Linked DNA regions of Homo sapiens: region 1 is linked to region 2. The links are contacts of gene promoters, found by promoter capture Hi-C in blood cells and fetal thymus (Javierre and others, 2016). All regions are on one chromosome and are shown on one strand. The core of a region is centred on a gene start or on the middle of the fragment in contact, and the rest is flanking DNA. Distances in the headings are between cores, read along the strand shown. Region 1 has its middle 110 kb from the start of CYSLTR2. Region 2 holds the start of MED4-AS1 (MED4 antisense RNA 1).

Region 1 (3,885 bases), core at 553-3,052, 690 kb before region 2:
ATCTAAGATAAAGAATAAGACAAGGATACCCACTCTCACCATTACTATTCAACATAATACTGGGAGTTCTAGTCAGAGCAATTAGACAAAAATTAAATTAAACTGAAGGCATACAAATTGGAAGGAAGAAGTCACATGATCTATTCACAGATGATATAATTTTATCTGTAGAAATCCCAAAAGATTCCACCAAAAAACTGCTAGGGCTAATAAACGATTTCAAGAAAGTGGCAGGATACAAAGCTGATGCACAAAAATCAGTTGCATTTCTAGATACATTTTTAAATAACTTAAATGAATTATGAAAACAATTCACTTATAATAGCACCAAATAGATGCTTCTTTCATGGGGCTGTCTTTCAACAGGTTAGATAGAGGAGTAGCACCCTGGGGAGGATAACAGAAATGTCAGAGTTCATAAAAGTTCAAGATCTTTTGCATGGCTTCTTTCTCTTGTGTGCTTATACCATTGCAGTTTCAGATTATAGTTGACTTCATAGAGAAAGAAGTTATATAAAAATCCATGTGATTCACAATTCTATCATTTTCCTTTAACCTGATTTTATTTGGAAATTTGGCCAAAGTATTTATTGCCTGAATTATTATTGTGTGTATTGAGAGCTCAGCATGCAGCCCAACCCTTTTCTATGATAGCAAGGGGAGGGTAGAAAGCTAAAACTGACATTTCCAGACTTCCTTGTAGTTAGGCTTCTGGATATGGGTTAGAGTCTGCCAATCAGATATGCTCATGGTAGAATGAGGTTTGAAACTGAACCAGGAAGAAGAGAGGGAGAAAAGGAGGAAGGAAGCATTCATTTTGCATTACAAATAAGGCTCAAATTCCCTTTGCCCACTCCCTGCAATCCTGGTCCATTTCCTACCCCAACAATGAAGGTAACCACTGCTATTAGATTGGTCTGTATCCTTCCATTCTCTTTCCATCAATTTTGCAAATATACATATATGCATATATGCTAATGTTTTAAGATGTGGATTTTGTGTAGTATTTTATTGTATCATACTACCATCTGCTACCTCTACAGCAACATTATGTCTTTGAGAACTTGACAGGTATGCATTATTCCATAGCATGGATACAGTATCACTTTTTAAAGTGATTTTCCTTTGGAAGGACATAAACCTAAAAATTGTTTCCAGTTTTCTGCTATCACAAACAATTTTGTACACATGTGCAAGAATTTTTCTTGAGCTAACACTAAGAAGTAGAATTTTTGAGTTGTAGGGTATGCACATTTAAATTTTCATAGATGCTGACAATGTATTTTAAAAGGGCTGTCACAGTTAACACCCCCACTATTTTTACTGTCTTTTGGTGTTAGTAGAGAAGCTTAAATTTTGGTGTCAGTCTAAGACTGCAAGAGTCATTTACAAGCAGTGGGACTAAGAGAAGTCATTTAACCTCCCTAAACCCCTGCTTCTTTATACTCAAAATGAGGATAAGTGTCTATGTCATGGAGTTCTTGCAGGGAATCGAGCTGAGGCCAGTAATACTTAGCACAGTCCCTGGCATATAGTAAGTGCTGATGAAAGGTGACTCCTACTCCTCCTCACCTTCCTTCTCTAAGATCTAAGCTTATCTATAAATGGGGCTATTCTATTATAATCTTTGCTAGGTTGAGATCACTTTGTTATTATTACTGTAGGATGTTTCTCCTTTTGAGAGGTACTGACACATCCTGGGCTGCATTTCTAAACTGGTCCTCTGAAAGAAACTTACCATGACATGGATTCCTATGTAATGAAACCACTTAATACTTTTAATTTAATGATGACACTGAATATGTGCATGGGCCATACTCAAATTTTTCCTGAAAGAACCACTTCCCTGTGCACTTAAGGATACTTACACTCTTCAAAAGTTTTGCATATGAGAGACTAAAATTAAGTTAATATCTTCAGAATGGCAATTTCCAAATGAAGTGATTTGTGCTCGTTAGCATGTTCTATTTAAGGCAAATGAATATATTGTTCTTTTTTACAGGAAGCTTTTAAGGTAACTCAGCTTACCGTGGAGTGGAGAGAGAATGTGATTGGGAGTCAAAGAGATCCAGGTTTGACTTTCAGCCCTGTCTCTTATTACCTAAGGGTCTTATTAAGATCCTTACTACTTCTGAGTCCCAATAATCATATTTATATTTATCTTGGAAGGTTGTTGAGAAGATTTAATGAGATAATATGTGCAAGTGCTGGACACATGGGGCATCCTTAAGAAATGCTGATTCCTGTCTATCCCCCCAGTGTTATTTACATAGGCTTCTGAATTCACCATCTATTGATTGAGTACAAGCTATGTGTCATCAGGAACTTCTATAGGCTGTGAGAGAGGGACAAATAAGAGAGACAGTCTCACCTTAAGGGGTTTTTAGTCTAGTGAGAAAGCTAGGCCATGGCTAAGTGACCTCAAGAGAACAATAAACACAATAACATTATGTCCAGGGCTCTCATCTCCCGATATGAGAAGTCAGAGGAACCTTCACAGAAGTATCTCTTGAGCTGGACCTTGAAGGATGAGGATGAGTTCACCAGGCAGGGAAGAAGAGCAGGTGGAAAAGCAAAGATAGAAAGAGCTGGGAGTGTTCTAACACTGGTGAGCATTAATCTTTCATCTCTAAAATATTTGGCCCGACATTCTTACAGTCTCTCCTGTGGCTGACATCTCCTGTGGTTCAAATGGACATTGGACTCACTAAAGAAGGGCACTGGACTCACTAAAGAAATCAAGAATTATTAATGTTCATTGCAGACTGGAACTTGGAACGCTGTAAATAACCCCAGCTCTACAAATCTGTCTGGAAAATGCTTAGTTCATGTTTGCTCTTTGTTACTTTTTCAAGGGAGTACTGAGGAAATCACAATTGTGGTTTCTGGCTGGAAATAGGTCCTATCTGTCACTATTGATCCTAAACAATTTGTCTCTCTGGAATCAGATTAAAATAGGTCCTATCTGTCACTATTGACCCTAAACGATTTGTCTCTCCGGAATCAGATTATTTAACCTCATTTCTAAAAGTTGTACTCAGGTGCTGGGTTAGGTGGATACTGCTAATAACAGCAGATGATCAATGATTCTTCCAGCAAACAGAGGAGTAAGTCACCTAGTGGGCAGAAAAGCCTGTTCCTCTGTGCCCATTTAATAAAAAAAATTATCCAGAGCACAAATTAATTTGTCATTAAAAGTGGCCATTCTCAGATATAGTTCTTACATCTTTTGTACTATTTTATAAACTATAGGCATCTGCCAGCAGCTGCTGGAACAGGAAAGTTTATATCCAGGCAGAGGGAAAAAAACATGGTAGAAAATGAGCAGGCTGAAACCAATATGAAGAAATGCCAGAAGAAAAAATGCACAATCAACTTTTGTCGTGTATTTTAAAATAAACTCTCTGGTCCAGTTGTAGCCGAGAATGACTCATCCCATCCACAGAAGCACCAAAGGGAATGGGGCAGGAAGGATGAACAGAAACAAGATTCTGTTTTACATAATTCTTATTTTCATGCAAAAAGGTATTCAAATAGCACATGAAATTGGCCAGTAATGTACCTCACTATTTACCTCACTATTTACAATGTCAGACAAAATGCAGGAGAGTTTGCTAGATAAGAATTATGACAGCCAGTCAATTAAAAGACTGTCATAGATCATATCCTACCATCCAGAACACCACAGTGTAAGGTTCTTGTATCGGTTTGAACCCCAAGAGCACGCCAAAAGATAACACGAGGCGGTGTGGGGTAACATGCTGTTTTAATGAGCGCCTGGGTGCAGGGGGGCTGACTAGGCCTCAGCCCCAAGTGAGGACAGGGCAAAGGCTTTAGAGTCTCCTGTAAACAGGAAGTGTCCTAGTCTGAAGTAACTGCTACGTT
Region 2 (3,929 bases), core at 249-2,748:
GTCATTGGAGAGGGTGCAGTGTAATGTGGCCCACTCCATGGCAGAGAAGTTAGATGAGGCATCAGAGGCCAGAGCTGGCAAGCAGGAAATTACCCACTGGGGTTCCAGGGAGACTTGCTGGGAAGCTGCCCTTTGGGATTCTGGTGAAACCTGCTAGGAAACCACCTTTAGAGGCGCCACCGAAAGTTGCTGTGGTGAACACCACTTAATGTCCTGCACACCAACCAGGCATCACAGCAGTAAAGGAGACAAAACCACCTGATCCAGGAAGTGAAACTTGTTTGCTAGTGGAGTCCCACCTGTGCCCTCTACTGACAAAACTTAATTGTGGCAGCTGGCAAAGGAGAAATGGTTTCAGGGGCCAGAGAGAAGGGTAGATTTGAGGCTAACTGGCATACCTTTCTAGTTAATACCATAACTCTTTCTTTTGACCCTTTAAAAATCTGCCTTCTTTATTTGAGTCTTGAACTATACCTGTTTATGTGCTCTGTCCCTTTGCTTCAGAAATACAGACTTTAAATGTAACTTGGGCCCTTTTTTAAGGTATTTCATATGCATACATTGCTAATCAACCTCTCTTTGATGAGAGTCACTTACAATAGCAGTTCCTCTATCAAGAAATCATTCAAATCTATTATAATACTAAAGTACCTATTACTTGTTTATAATATGTAGAATAATCTACATAACCTAGTATACATAAGTATGTATTATATATGCATATAATAGATACATAGATACAGGAAAAATTTGTAATTACAAATGTCTTACAAAAGAAAAATTATGTCAACTGACTAAATAGTTTCTTACAGAGTAGTATGATTTTTTTAAAAAAGTCCCCAGTTGCTAAAATATCAACTTTTCCTTGATAAATTTGATTTTTATTAATTTGGCTAAATGTGTATTTTTTTCCTAGTCTTAAAAAAATTGGCACAATAGCTTATGCCTGTAATCCCAACACTTTGGGAGGCTGAGGTAGCAGGATAGCTTGAGCCCAGGAGTTGGAGACCAGCCTGGTTAACATAGTGAGACCTCATCTCTACAAAAACTTTAAAAAGTACTCAAGCATGGTGGCACATACCTGTAACCCAGTTACTCAGGAGGCTGAGGCAGGAGGATTGCTTGAGCCTAGGTCAGGGCTTCAGTGATGTATTCGTGCCACTGCACTCAAGCCTGGGTGACAGAATGAGACCCTGTGTCAAAAAAAGAAGAGAAAAAAGTAAAATTAAAAAAAATACTTCAAATTGTTGCATAAAGGGAAAAGTAAGAACTAGATTAATTACAGATAGAGCTGTTCTTATCTATGCTTCTTTTTTTCTCCAGATGTCCTTGCTCCACAGTATCCATGGCAGTCAAATGACATGTCGATGAATATGTTACCACCAAATCATAGTAGTGACTTTTTGTTGGAACCTCCTGGGCATAATAAAGAAAATGAAGATGATGTAGAGATTATGTCAACGGACTCCTCAAGCAGTAGTAGTGAGTCTGATTGAAAAACCTTAAAAGACAATATACAGAATTGAATACTGTAGAATTCTGTTTCTTTAACAGTAGCAGGGAAATGTAAACTACAGGTGACAAAAAATACCCAGGTAAACACTGGCTTTGGTAGAATTGTGCAGTCATTAAAAGTCAAAATTTTTTGACTTTCTTTTTAAAGCCAAAGACCATAGTTTTAGTTTTAAGCCACTAGGTAGATATTTAGGGGAATAGTCAAAATTTACTGTTGAAAAAGCAGTTGCTATGTGCTTTCTTACCCTGTTCTGTTCCAGTTTTGCTGGATTTGTACATAGCCATTCTAGAAATAGAGTTGAGGGAAATTATCCATATACATATCACTAATAGGCTTCTTGGAATTATTTAGAAAAGCATTTTTAAACTGGCAGTGGATGACTGAATAGGCATCATATTTCTTTTTGTGTGTCATTTAAAAGTAACAAAAACTGCCATTTGACAGTAAAGGCTCTTGGCTTCTGTTGGAGGCATGGGAAATTGTCTCAATTTGTACAGTTTGTAATTGTAATTTTTGTAAATAAATTTGTTTGTACATTGTATGCTTTTTTTTTAGTTTAAATATACTGTCAGTGTAGGTAGGAAATTATTTCTGTAAATCCAGTTGCATTTTATAATACTTGAGTGACTAACTGAATTGAAACCTATTACAATTAATAGGGTTCTCAAAGGCCTATTCCTATTAGAAGAAATAATTTTTTTTAATAATTGAAAAAATTTACCACAGCCTTGTCTGATTTTAAGAATAGATTGTGTGAAGATTTAGAATGGAAAGCAACCATTTCTTCCCTTCACCTTCCTCTTCTTACAGTTCCCCAGGAGTCATTTTTAACCACTTTTAATTTCTGTTGGTAACCTCTGTGTTTAGGTAATATGCTTATACAACTATTTCTTGATGTATCAGTTTTAGACAATGTATCTTCTGATTTCAAAGGTAATACAACATTTAATGTGAAACATTTAGTGAATACAGTAAAGGAGAAAATAAAATTGTTAGCATTCTACCCAGAGATAATATCAATTCATATTGTAGTGTAGATTTTTTTAAAGTTCACATACACTTTTTTGTAAAATGAGAATAATGTTTATTTCCTGAGATACTGCTGTATTTTTTAATTGCTAATCTGTATTCTTCAAATGAACTGAGAATTCCATTTTTCCATCATTTTTTCCTTTTGATTATTTTCGATCTCTAGAAAAATTGGAAAATAGGAGATTAATCTTATATTTTCACCATCTAGAATTAAGGACATACAATGTTTGAATGTCTTTCCCTCCAGGGTTATTTTTAGGAATGGACTAACACAATATCTAATTTTAACCTTGCCTTGTCCGTATACTAGGAATATTGATCCATGTGTATACATTCTTGAAAGATTTACTTTAATGGCTAAAATTTTATTGTGGTATGTGCCATAATGTAACTGCCTGTTTTTATCACCAAATCTTTAGGGTAGATTCAAAAGGATTGTGTTTTTCAAATTCTTTAATACTGTATTAGTTTTCAGTTGCTGCCGTAACAAATTACCACAAACTTGGCTCAAAACAACACAAATTTATCTTAGTTTTGTACATCACAAATGTGAAGTGGGTCTCACCTAAAATCAAGGTGTGAGCAGGGCTGCATTCCTTCCTGGAGGCCATAGGGGAGAATCTGTCCCCTGTGTCTTCCAGGTTTTAGAGGCCGCCCTTGGTCCTGCTCCAGGCCCCTGGTTGGTGAGTGTTTCTCATTCTGCATTACTGTGATGCTCTTCTGCCTACCTGTCCCATATTTAAAGGATCCTGTGATCATTCTGAGCCCACTGGATAACCCAGAATAATCTTCTTATTTAAAGTGAGATGATTAGCAACCTTTATTCTGTTTGCAACCTTAATTCTTCCTTGCCATGTAACAAAACAACATTCATAGGTTCTGTAGATTGGGATTTAGACATCTTTGGGGAAAGGGGGTCATTATCCAGCCTATCAGAAATAATCCAAACTTTTCCCCTGAAAATTACACAAATATACATTCTATCAGTACTAAGTCAATATCATAAGTCTATATATTTCTGAATTTTTTTTTTTTTGGAGACGGAGTCTTGCTCTGTCACCCAGCCTGGAGTGCAGTGGCTCTATCTCGGCTCACTGCAAGCTCCACCTCCTGGGTTCACGCCATTCTCCTGCCTTAGCCTCCTGAGTAGCTGGGACTACAGGTGCCCACCACCACGCCTGGCTAATTTTTTTGTATTTTTAGTAGAGACGGGGTTTCACCATGTTAGCCAGGATGGTCTTGATCTCCTGACCTCGTGATCCACCCTCCTCAGCCTCCCAAAGTGTTGGGATTACAGGTGTGAGCCACTGCGCCCAGCCTGAAAAATTTTTTTAAAGGTTTTTGTGTGTGTCCCAGTAGATGCCCTTAAAATAACTGCCTC

Evidence for each region. Contacts are between HindIII fragments. The CHiCAGO score rates a contact against its expected background, and 5 or more counts as called.
Region 1: a contact is called between a fragment that was not itself captured here and the fragment with the promoter of MED4-AS1 in region 2, in 3 of 17 cell types (total B cells, fetal thymus and naive B cells). The highest score is 7.0, in total B cells.

Annotation. Positions count from the first base shown.
Region 1 is chr13:48,760,972-48,764,856 of GRCh38, reverse strand. No RefSeq gene overlaps it. Among named protein-coding and RNA genes, the nearest start is that of CYSLTR2, 110 kb to the right of the region's middle. The HindIII fragment of the contact is 413 bases long and covers 1,596-2,008 here.
Region 2 is chr13:48,074,706-48,078,634 of GRCh38, reverse strand. It overlaps MED4-AS1 (MED4 antisense RNA 1), which reads right to left and starts at 1,498. Exons shown (of 3, transcript NR_046511.1): 1 at 1,284-1,498; 2 at 1,082-1,193. It overlaps MED4 (mediator complex subunit 4), which reads left to right. Exons shown (of 7, transcript NM_014166.4): 7 at 1,324-2,911. The coding sequence ends at 1,496. The HindIII fragment of the contact is 10,244 bases long and covers 1-3,929 here.